Regions from separate parts of the Homo sapiens genome. Here all the other regions are linked to region 3. The links are contacts of gene promoters, found by promoter capture Hi-C in human tissues and cell types (Jung and others, 2019). All regions are on one chromosome and are shown on one strand. Each heading gives the region's core, a stretch centred on a gene start or on the middle of the fragment in contact. The rest is flanking DNA. Distances are from core to core; before and after follow the strand shown.

What was found. The method cuts DNA at HindIII sites, captures the fragments that hold promoters and counts their contacts. A contact is called where the count stands out against the background at its distance.
Region 1: the fragment with the promoter of NT5M here is called in contact with the fragment with the promoter of PEMT in region 3 in 3 of the 25 tissues and cell types used here (IMR-90 fibroblasts, dorsolateral prefrontal cortex and mesendoderm cells).
Region 2: a contact is called between a fragment that was not itself captured here and the fragment with the promoter of PEMT in region 3, in 5 of the 25 tissues and cell types used here (IMR-90 fibroblasts, dorsolateral prefrontal cortex, hippocampus and 2 more).

What each region holds. Positions count from the first base shown.
Region 1 is chr17:17,302,045-17,305,627 of GRCh38, reverse strand. It overlaps NT5M (5',3'-nucleotidase, mitochondrial), which reads right to left and starts at 2,255. Exons shown (of 5, transcript NM_020201.4): 1 at 1,811-2,255. The coding sequence starts at 2,077. RefSeq lists silencers at 1,686-1,875, 2,006-2,105, 2,156-2,325. The HindIII fragment of the contact is 23,347 bases long and covers 1-3,583 here.
Region 2 is chr17:17,852,857-17,856,604 of GRCh38, reverse strand. All of the region lies in intron 12 of TOM1L2 (target of myb1 like 2 membrane trafficking protein), which reads left to right. Among named protein-coding and RNA genes, the nearest start is that of SREBF1, 18 kb to the right of the region's middle. The HindIII fragment of the contact is 7,112 bases long and covers 1-3,748 here.
Region 3 is chr17:17,590,424-17,593,993 of GRCh38, reverse strand. It overlaps PEMT (phosphatidylethanolamine N-methyltransferase), which reads left to right and starts at 2,286. Exons shown (of 7, transcript NM_148172.3): 1 at 2,286-2,463. The coding sequence starts at 2,368. RefSeq lists enhancers at 2,145-2,534, 2,100-2,841. The HindIII fragment of the contact is 9,919 bases long and covers 1-3,570 here.

The DNA.
Region 1 (3,583 bases), core at 1,006-3,505, 290 kb after region 3:
AGCCACCCTGTCACATGGACGGCCGGAGGATGCCCTGACAGCATACCAGCAACACTCTCAGGAACCACAGGGACTAGGCAAATGCGTGCTTATTACTGAAACACATTTGATCCTCACATCCCACATAGGGTACTGTGAAGACCAAAGGGAATACAGACAGAGCAGAATTTTGAAAAGTAGAAATGCCTACATACACATAAGGAGCCACGTGTGTGGGGGCGGGGGGGGGGGGGCGGTTGTTTTAACCACAGATACTGGGCCAGCTTGGGGTAGGCCCAGGGATGTCCACAGCAGCAAGCCGTGCCTCAGGAAGGGAAGTAGTGGAAGCCAGCAGATTACTCCCAAGGCACCCTCCTTACTGCCCCGTGCCTTTGCCTTGTGCTTGGAAACCAGTAACCCCACACGTACAGAGCCTACATATTTGCACAAAGAACTGGAAAAGCTGCTGCACTTTTCGGAGTTGGGGGTGGGCTTGGTTTCCACGTTAATACACTCCCGGGCGGATATATGGTGTCCAGACTCCCCATGCCGAGCGCTGCCTATAAATGAACACTCGCCACACACTGGAGCCTATTCCTGAGGCTGCAGAAAGTACCAGGGCATTTTCTCCAGTTTAAAGTTTATCATTAGGCATCCGCTGTAGAAGAGCTCAGCACACTGGGCTCTGTGAAAGTCACCTTCTGAAGTGCCTGGTGTTGATGGAGACAAACGGTACTTGGTTTCCTTTTTTAACACCTGTCCCTCAACAAACCACATTACTGATGAGGCATCTTTCTGATGTCAGAAGAAATGTCACTTGTTAGAGACAGTAGTACAGAGAACAGGACTGTGGAGTGGGGAGCACTAACTGTGCTTGGGAGGCAGACAGACTTGGGTTTGAGTCCTGACTGAGCCCCTGAGCAGCATGTGACTTGGGGCAAGTTTCCTCATCTGGAAAACAGAGATAATAATATCTACCCAACAAAAGAGAGGATGCAGTGAACTTGTGGCTAAAAAACGGGCTCTTGTAACTTCCTTCTCCTCTTTATCAAACCCTCCAGCAGCAACCCTAGGTGGCCAATCAAGGGATGCCAAAAAACACTCAGCCTCTTTAATTTTGTGCATACCAAAATCCCCTGTTCCTTTTGCAAAATACTTCAAATTTACCAACCAAGATCTGTGTGTAAACGTCCCTCCTTGGATCTTTCCCCTCTATCCATCCTGGACAGAACACCTCGGGAGTCGGATGGTAGGGGTTGAGCTCAGGTGTTCAGCAAGGCCAGCTCTGCAAGGGGATAAGACATGAGGTGGATCCCACCTCACCTGGACCACTGACTCACTGTGTGACCCCCAGAAAGTCACACAACCTCTCTGGGCCTCAAATACCCCTGGAAGCTATGCTTTCATGGACAACAGTAAAAAAGATGGGTAAAGACACCCATCAAAGTCCTGGGGACAAAGAAGTGGGAATGTGACTGCGGTCGGGGTGAAAGAGGACAACTTATAACGTTTATTTTTCTAAAAATTTAACAAACGACTTGAGGCCAAATATGCCACAAATTTTGAAGTCAGCTTTAAATGCAGAGTTAGGTATATTAACACTTTGTACTCTCCCGCATTTTCAGAAACCTTGGATGGCAGCCAACAGATCCTGAGCGCGGGGCCGCATCTTCCCGGTGCGCTGTGGCCCCTAGTCCCCCCCAGACCCTATTCTATCAGAGGGCCACCCCGAGGCTGGGGCGCTGACCGTCCAAGGTCACCGGCGCAGGGGCGGTGTCTGGGGCTCGGGGCGAGAAGGAGGCCCGGCGCGGGGCGGGGCGGGGACGCTCACGCTCAGCCCTGGCCGCAGGCGGCCGTACTGCTCCGACACCCAGAAGCCGCGCCGGTCCTCCAGCGCGATGAAGGGCTGGTCGGGAAAGCGCGCGCGGAACTTCCTGAGGAATCCGCCCTCGAAGTCAGCCAGCACGCCGTCCATGTCCACCAGCACCCGTAGGGCGCGGCCTCCCGCCAGGCCCAGCCCGCCCGCCGCCCCGCGCCGCCCCGCGGGAACCGCCGCGCTGCAGAGCCGCCGCGCACACCAGCCGCCCAGCCGGATCATGGCCCAGCGCGCTGGCCCGTCGTGGGCGCGGGGACCTGGGCCGCGCCGTGCTGCCGGAGCCGGCCAGACATTCCCGCCGCGGAGGAGAAGCCCCCAACGCTGGGGCGCGCGTGGAGCGCGGGACGGGGAGCGGGGCGGGGAGCGCGGGGTGCGGGCGCGCAAGTACCGGCCCCAGAGCGAGGCCGCGGCGCGCGCGGTCCCTAAAGGAACACGCGCCGGCGGAGGCGGAGCCCCGGGGCGGGGCTTCGAGGACGGACAGCGGTAAGCGCCGCGCGCCTCCAGAAGGTCCGCGCTCCCGCGCTGTCGATTTGCGTCTTCTCCGTGGACCCTGGGCCCGGGCTGCCTTCTCCCACTGCACAGACTACCATGGAGGAGCAGTGCAAACCGAGAAGCAGGCCTGTGTCGTTAGACATTTTTGAGCACTAACTGTGTCGAGTGTGAACCAAATAGACAAAGTTCCTGCCATCCTGGAACTTACGTTTTAGAAGGGGATCCAGACAACAGGATGGAGGAACAAAAACAGGGTGCACTCTGAAAGCCTCTCTGCTTTATTTACAGCAAATGTCTGCGGAGAGACTGATAGAACCAATATCTGCTAACATCATACAGCCTTAGTAAAACTGATGATTCTCAGGTAAATATATGAATAAATATTAAGTACCCCTGTATTGCTTTTTTTTTTTTTTTTTTTTGGAGACGGGGTCTTGCTCTGTTACCCAGGGTGGAAGCAGTGGCATGATCTCGGTTCCCTGCAGCCTTGAGTTTCTGGGCCCAAGGGATCGTCCTGCTTCTGCCTCCTGAGTAGCTGGGACCACAGGGGCCTGCCACCACACCCTGGTAATTTTTTTTTTTTTTTTTTTTTTTTTGAGACAGGAGTCTTCCTATGTTGGGCTCAAACGATCCTCCCACCTCAGCCTCCCAAAGTGCTGGGATTACAGGCGTGAGCCACCGCGCCCGGCCTCTTTTCAACTTTTAAGTACAGGGATACATGTGCAGATTTGTTATATAAATTGACTGTCTTGGGGGTTTAGTGTACAGATTATTATTACCCAGGTAATAAGCGTAGTTCCTGATAGGTAGTTTTTCCATCCTCACCCTCCTCCCACTCTCCACCCTCAAGTAGGTCACCGTGTCTGTTGTCCCCATCATTACGTCCATGTTTACTTAATGTTTAGTTCCCGCTTTTAAGTGAGAGCATGAGGTATTTAATTTTCTGTTCCTGTGTTTGCTTAGGATAATTGTCTCCAGCTCCATCCATATGGCTGCAAAAGACATGATCTTATTCTTTTTTTATGACTGTGAAGTATTCTATGGTATATATGTACCACATTCTCTCCCTTTTTTTTTTTTTTTTCTTGATAGGGAGTCTTGCTCTTGTTGCCCAGGCTGGAGTGCAGTGGCAGGATCTCGGCTCACTGCAACCTCCACCTCCCAGGTTCAAGCGATTCCCCTGCCTCAGCCTCCCAAGTGGCTGGGATTACAGGCGCCCACCACCACACCCAGCTT
Region 2 (3,748 bases), core at 670-3,169, 260 kb before region 3:
GCTATGCTAGGCTGTGGCCAGAGGAAAGGCCAGCAGGTCCTAGACTGCAAGCAGCACAGGGTCCACCTGCTTGAGCAAAGCGTGACCAGTGAGTAGGAACTTGGGCCATGCAGGATCACCCAGAGCCGTGGGAGCAAGGGGCATCTGCCTGCCACCCAGCTTGGGCTGGTGCCCTCTGCACAGCTCTGCTGTCAGCCTGGGCAGGTCTCCTGCCACCTCTCATAGTAGCAGCATACTGCTGCTCTGCGTGAGAAGGCAGTTCCTCCACTAGACCCCAAGCCCATTCTTAGAGAGATGTGCTGGCCCAGGCCTCTCATTTGCTTCTTCAGGGACAGGCTGGCCTCTGGCCCACATGTCAGGGGCCTTTGCAGCAGGGCTTCTGGAAACCATGTCCATTCATTGGGAAGATCCAGCCCACATGCCCTTGTGCCTATTAATCCTGCAAAAAAGGATACTGCCCACACAAACTCCCCTGAGGGTGGCCTTGGCAGCTGGTGGTGGTGCCTGTCTCTGCCCACACAGACTGCCTCGCCACTGCCAGGTCCCACGTAGAGCTCCAGTCTCTAACTTCCCAGAAACAAACCTAACTAACAGCTAACCTGGTGTCTTGCCTGACTGACTGCAGTTTGTTTTTTTTTTTTTCTTTACAACAAATATTAATTGCTTTGCCTTATTTCCCATAGTGTAGAAACCTTGAGTCTTTTCAAGCCTCCTGAGTACAAATTCTTTACTTGGAAACTTTTTGTACTATTGAGTGAGATCAAAGGCTTTTAGACTTGGTCCCAGTGGGGTGGTGCTTGAAGTGACATAGGAAGGGATTCACAGCTTCTCTGGAAATAGTACACCTGAGCTACAGAAATTGTTCTTGTTACATTGAAAACTGGACAGGTGGGTTTCCTTGTGGGCATGGGGCTGTGGGAAGCTGCAGAGGAGCATCTGTTGGAACCCTTATGCTCCTGGGACTCAGGTGTGTGGATAGCCAACACAGAAGTTAACTGACACCACCAGGCTTATTACTGGTTGAAGAGAAATGAGACTTGTCAATGGGCTAGGGCCGGGCGGCTCTCAGGGAGACTGCTAGGCTTGTGCTCTCCCTCCCTGGCCTCTCTAGTGTGAGGTCTTTTTGCCTCTCTTGGCTGGTGATCAGCTAGGGGTGTCTCCCTTTTGCAGGGTGCAGCCAGGAAAATATCCTCATGTGAGAGAATCTAAGTCAAAACAAGAACAGAGGTAGGTTAGTAAAGAATGCTGCTGCCAAAACCCAGGCTTGGGTTTGGAGGGCGGGACTCCCTCCTCAGACCTGGAGGCCCCCAAGGCTCTTACTCTGGAAGGATAATCCTAACCCCTGGAGTACCAGACAGACATGCCTCTCCCCCTTGGGCAGGCAACCCTCCCTCCTGATCCCTGAGGCAGAGCTGCCCCTGCCTGCAGTTCCAAGTGAGAATCAGCTGACAGCAGGATGGCTCACCTGCCACTCAGATCAAAACCTGTGGCTTCTGACATCCAAGATGTCTGTGGACTTTGAAAATGGGCAGGGCTGGTCTAACCACTGCCTCAGCCAAGCCAGCCTGGCCTACCTATCTTCAGAGGGGCTGAGCTTCAGGCAGCAGTCTCTATTGGAGGGCATTCCTCTGCTAGCTTCCTTCCTTTTCTCTCTTCACATGTCTTCTTCCTTTCTGTCCCTCTCTTCCAACTCATACGCTTCTTCAGATCCCTCAGACCAGCCTTCAGCTTGGATCATTGCCCAAGAAAATGCTGAAACTATGGCATGTCAGGCTGGGTGCAGTGGCTCACATCTGTAATCCCAGCACTTTGGGAGGCCAAGCTGGGCAGATCATTTGAGGCCAGGAGTTTGAGATCAGCCTGGCCAACATGGCAAAACCCTGTCTCTACTAAAAATACAAAAAAAAAAAAAATTAGGCAGGTGTGGTGGCTCACGCCTGTAATCCCAGCTACTCAGGAGGCTGAGGCACAAGGATTATCTGAACCTGGGAAGCAGAGGTCGCAGTGAGCTGAGATCGCACCACTGCACACCAGCCTGGGCAACAGAGCAAGACTCTGTCTCTAAATAAATTAATTAATTAAATAAATAACTAAATAAATAAATAAAAATAAAAATAAAACTATGACACATCAGAGCCAACAGCCTTCTTAGGAATCTGCTGGGCCAGCCCCTAGTCTGACAGATGAGGATACCGAGGCCTCCTAAGGGCCTGGTGTCTTGCCCAAAGCTGCAGGGAAGAAACAGAGTCCCCTAAGACTCAGCGCAGTGCCCCCTGCTCCAACCAGGGCCCCACTTCCCTCCCATCAGCCTGACAAGGAGCGCGTCCTCGGCCTCCCACAGTTTCTTTGGTTCATATTTTCCAAGCAGTGTACATGTTTAGTCTGAGTCTGATAGCACCTACATTATTAGAAGGAACTTTGCCCTGTTATAATACTCAAGGCATTTATTTACCAGGACAAGAGGTTTAGATAGCTAAGGTTTTGTGTCTGGCCACAAGAAAGTCAATTTAAGCTTACGTTATATAAGCTTAACTGTTAACCATCACCCTGCTCCACCATGGTTCACGCCCTGAGGCCAAGTGGCTTCTATATTGTAATGAGTCAGTTTCCATAATTTCTGACATCCCTGGGTTTCTGAATTAGAAAACAGAAGCACCAACCTGAAAGTTAAGGTTTCTGAGTCATAAGAATTGAAAGCCAAATACAATCTAGCAATCGCCTTATTTCACAGATGAGGAAATTGAGGCCAAGCATTGCTCAGGCCTCTGTCCCCTGCTCCTGCCTCTCCACCCAAATCTCTAAGGCTTCTTAGGATAGAAGAAACTCAGGAGCTCTCCGGTGAAGAAAGTGGGGTCCAGAGAGGAGCGACTCACCCCAGGTCCTGCCACCAGTGAGTGTGAGGGCCCAGATGGACCCCACCCAGTGCACTCTCCTCAGCGTGCCCTCTAGGGCTTGGTCTGGAGGATGCCATTCCATAAACATACTACTTATTTGGAAAAATCTAGGACATGGAAGAAAAGGGTTCCCATGAGCCAGCTTTTGGGAAGTTATTTTTGAGGAGGTGAGGAATTTCTTAAGTGTCATTGTTTATTTTCTGAGCATGTTGGCTCTCAAGATTTATCCCCAAAGAAGAAAATTAAAGTATGACCCCAGGCCTCAAGGGATTTGTTCTTTAGCAGCAACAAAACAATTACAAGAAAAATCTGAAGGTTTAAGGCCCCTGACCCCTTAATGTCTTTGTTGTAGCTTTTGCAACACATTGGAAAGCTCAGGACATCTAGTCTGTTTCTGCTAAGTGGACAAAAGCTGGTCAGGTGTAAAGAAAGGGCTGGTGCACACTCTAACCGCTAGTGTGGGACTATTTTCTCTCTGGAGATGCTGCTGACTTTCTAAGCTTCAGTTTTGGGGACTCAGCATGGCATGCGTCCTCCCAGAGGCCACACATTCTGACTTACAGTCATTGAGAGCATGATAACTGGTGTGTCCTGTTCCAGGAATGTCTCAAGGCAGAAGGCCTGCCAGCAAGCACAGAGTAGCAGTGTACCCTACTGCCTTTTGATGGGCAAGGGCAAGGAAGTGCCAGCCTTAGGCATTGTTAACACATCTGTCAGTCATTTGTGCGTCCATCCCCCCAGTGAGGACCCACATGCCTCCTGTCCCTAGGTTTCATGTCTGGGTGATAAGACTCCCTGATACCTTTTCAATTCAATGTTCTTTTTTTTTTTTTTTTTTTTTTTTTTAGACAGAG
Region 3 (3,570 bases), core at 1,037-3,536:
ACTGCAGCCTCCACCTCCTGGGTTCAAGCAATTCTCCTGACTCAGCCTCCTGAGTAGCTGGGATTACAAGTGTGCACCACCATGCCTAGCTAATTTTTGTATTTTTAGTGGAGACGGGGTTTCACTGTGTTGGTCAGGCTGGTCTTGAACTCCTGACCTCATGATCCGCCTGCCTCGGCCTCCCAAAGTGCTGGGATTCCAGGTGTGAGCCAGGCAGGAGGTTTTTATCTGACTTGTTTCAAGCTGCAAGTCTGTCTCCTGGGTGGGGTGTTTGCTTTTCACAGAGGAAGGGTGGCCCAGGTTGGGTAGGCTGGAGTAGAGGATCGGACTGCATCAGTTCTGGTGTGACCTCTTACGGTTGCCTTACTTTGTTCTCAGATAAAGCAAACGCACAAAAATTTGTTTTCTGGGCTTAACAAAACAGGAGTGACCAGTTAGGTCAGAAGACTGGAACATCAGTGAAGTGGATGTGTGGTAGGCGGAGGGGAAAGACTTGCTAGAAGCCCTCCCGCTGCGGGGGGCTCCTTCAGAAATGGCTCTGCCTCTAGCAGCTCTGCCTGGACACTGAGCAGGGAAAGGGTCCCGACACTCATTAGTAACAGTGGTAAGTCAGAGAACCAGCCCTGAGCCTGTGTCCCCAGCCCTGCCGGGGGCCAATGCCTACTGAGCACTTCCCACAGGCCAGTTCCTGGGTGATGAGTTTTACCAACATGTATTTCCCTTTTACTTTTGAGGAAAATGAAGGTGGGCTCAGTCACAGAGATAGTGCATGCTCCAAAGCCAGTGTCTTTCCTGTCTCCTCGGTTGGCCTGCCCCATCCTAGCGATGTTGTGAAGATTGGGACTACCTCTAAAGCAGCACACAGTGGCTGCTCAGTAAATGCTCAACACTGGTAGGTGCTGTGGGCCAAGGTGGAGAGAAACGGGCCATCTGGAGCAGGAAGCAGCTGACTGCAGAAGTCCTGTCTGGGCCCCCAGCAGTCTGGGTGACTGAGCAAATCTTGGAACCTCTCAGTCTATTTCCCCATATTACATAACACCTGGCTACAAAAGGGCTTTTTTCTTTTTTGAGAGGGAGTCTCGCTCTGTCGCGCAGGCTGGCATGCAATGGCACCATCTCCGCTCACTGCAACCTCCACCTCCTGGGTTCAAGCGATTCTCCTGCCTCAGCCTCCTGAGTAGCTGGGATTACAGGTGCGCGCACCACACCCGGCTATTTTTTGTATTTTTAATAGAGACGGGGTTTCACCGTGTTAGTCACGCTGGTCTCGAACTGCCGACCTCTGGTGATCCGCCCACCTCGGCCTCCCAAAGTGCTGGGATTACAGGCATGAGCCACCACACCCGGCCTACAAAAGGGGTTCTTCTGGGACCCGATCGTCTAAACTCTTCTCCATTTGACCCCCTCCATCACTACTCCACAGCTCACCGGTCTTTTCTCTGTTCCTTAGGTGCCCGTCCTGTCTCCAGGCCTTTGTACATACCATTCGTCTTGCCTTGTTTGCCCTGCCCTCACACTTGGCACATCTGGCACCTCCCCTGCACATTCTAAGACAGCATCCTTCCGTACCATTTGACCCACCCCGTTTTTTCCACCACAGTACTCATCCATATTATAACCCTTTATTCACATTTTGTCTTTTATCTCAGTCAGGAGGAAGCGAGGGCGGGGGACTCTGTGTTGTTCCCTACCGTACCCTCAGCGCACAGTCTGGTTCAGAAAATACTCGAGAGTGAATGAGAGAATGAATGAAGGAAAAAATGAGTGGAGGAGGGGTCTTTGGCCGAGCTAAAGAGCCTGGGCGCCGCGGGGGCGGGAAGCTCTAGGCAGTGCTCGTCGCGCACCGCCCCCAGAGTAAAGCGAATTTCAGAAGAGGGCGTGGGGCCCTGGGCGTGTGGGGCCCTGGGCGTGTGTGACCCGGGCCAAGTCCAAGTCCGCAGGAGGCTGCGCGGGAAGCTGCTTATAGCTACGACCCGCGGCCCCCGGCCTCTAGCCCCACCGCCGCCAGGCAAGGGCAGGGACGCCAGGTCAGTTACAGGCTCGGGTGCGGCAGCCGGCGACCAAAGGCACTGGGCGGGAGGCCGGATCCAAGGGGATACTGCTACGTAGCTGCAGCGGAACCGGCAGGCTCTGCGGCGAAACACACTGGGACTTGTAGTTCTCGGCTCCTCTAGACGCTGTCGCGAGCCCCCAGATAAAGAGGCACTTCGCGGTGACGGGGAACTACATTTCCCAGAAGGCCGGAATATGTTGGGGGTCACCGGGAAAGCGCCCCGACTGGCGGCACTTACCCGGCTCTATAGGTCCGGTTCCGGGGGCGCGTGGCTGCAGCGGGGCCCGCGTGGTGCCTCCTGAGGCGGCCCCCGGATGAAGAGATCTGGGAACCCGGGAGCCGAGGTAACGAACAGCTCGGTGGCAGGGCCTGACTGCTGCGGAGGCCTCGGCAATATTGATTTTAGACAGGTACTGACCGCACCGGACCGCCGCGGAAACTGGGAGAGGGATCTGCAAGGCCCGAGGGGCGTGAAGGCTTGCGGCGCCTCAAACGCTGCGGGGCGGGGCCGCCAGTTCCCAGGCAATGGGGGCGTGGCGTGGCGGGGGTGGGGGAGCCGCGTGCGGGAGCGCCGGCTGGTGTCTGTGTGTGTGCGTGTGCGCGCGCGTGTAAACCTCAGATTGCGTGTGTCAGAGACGGGGGCGTTCCTGAGCTCGTCTGATTGTGTGCCTGTGTGTGGCCCTGAGATTGTGTGAGACTCAGAGGTTGTCCGTGTTAGTCTTTGGGATTGTGTCTCACTGAAATTATGTGATGCTCTGAGAGTGTGCCGGAGAGTGAGTGTGAGTGTGTATGACCGAGGCTGTGTGTGACTGAGCGTGGGCGAGGGTGAAGGAGGCCGATTATATGTTTGGGAGTGTGTTGTGTGGCCCCTGCTCCCGTCCATCCCCCAGGGTCAGGAGGCCAGCTTTTGCCCAGAGGCAAGAGAGTGGTGGGGACCCTGCCTGTCTCCCAGCCGGCCCTGGGCAGGCTGCAGACCACCACCCAGCCGTTTCGGGGCCATAATGGGTGCGACCGGCCCCAGAAGCTGGGGGCCTGGCTTGCCTGCTGAGGCTGCCCTCTGCAGAGTCCTAGGCCAGAGAGTGCCTGTCCTGGCATCTCCCCAGGCTCCCAATTCCAATGGATTCCAATTTCCAACCTCTCTTGCATTCTCCCTTCTATCAAAGCTTCCTCTTAGATGCTCCATTTACCTTTTTCATCACCCACTCTTCATGAAGCCTGTAAGGCACATCTCTGCCCCAAGCAGCTTCTAATCCAGTTCTTTCGCTCCCTTCATTCCTTACTCACATGTGCATTTATTCACTCACTGATCCAGCCAGTATTGATTCAGGGCCGGCTGAGGGCCTCGTGTCACTCAGAAGTTTAAGGGCACTTCTGTCACTGAGCTTTCATTCTAGGGAGGGAGATTGTAGGCCTGGAAAGCCAGAGAGTTCTCTGAAGGAGCTAATACCAGTTAGTGTTTTGAAGAGTAGCTGATGGGAAGGCGGGATTGAAATCCCAAGAGAGCCTGTTGCCGTATC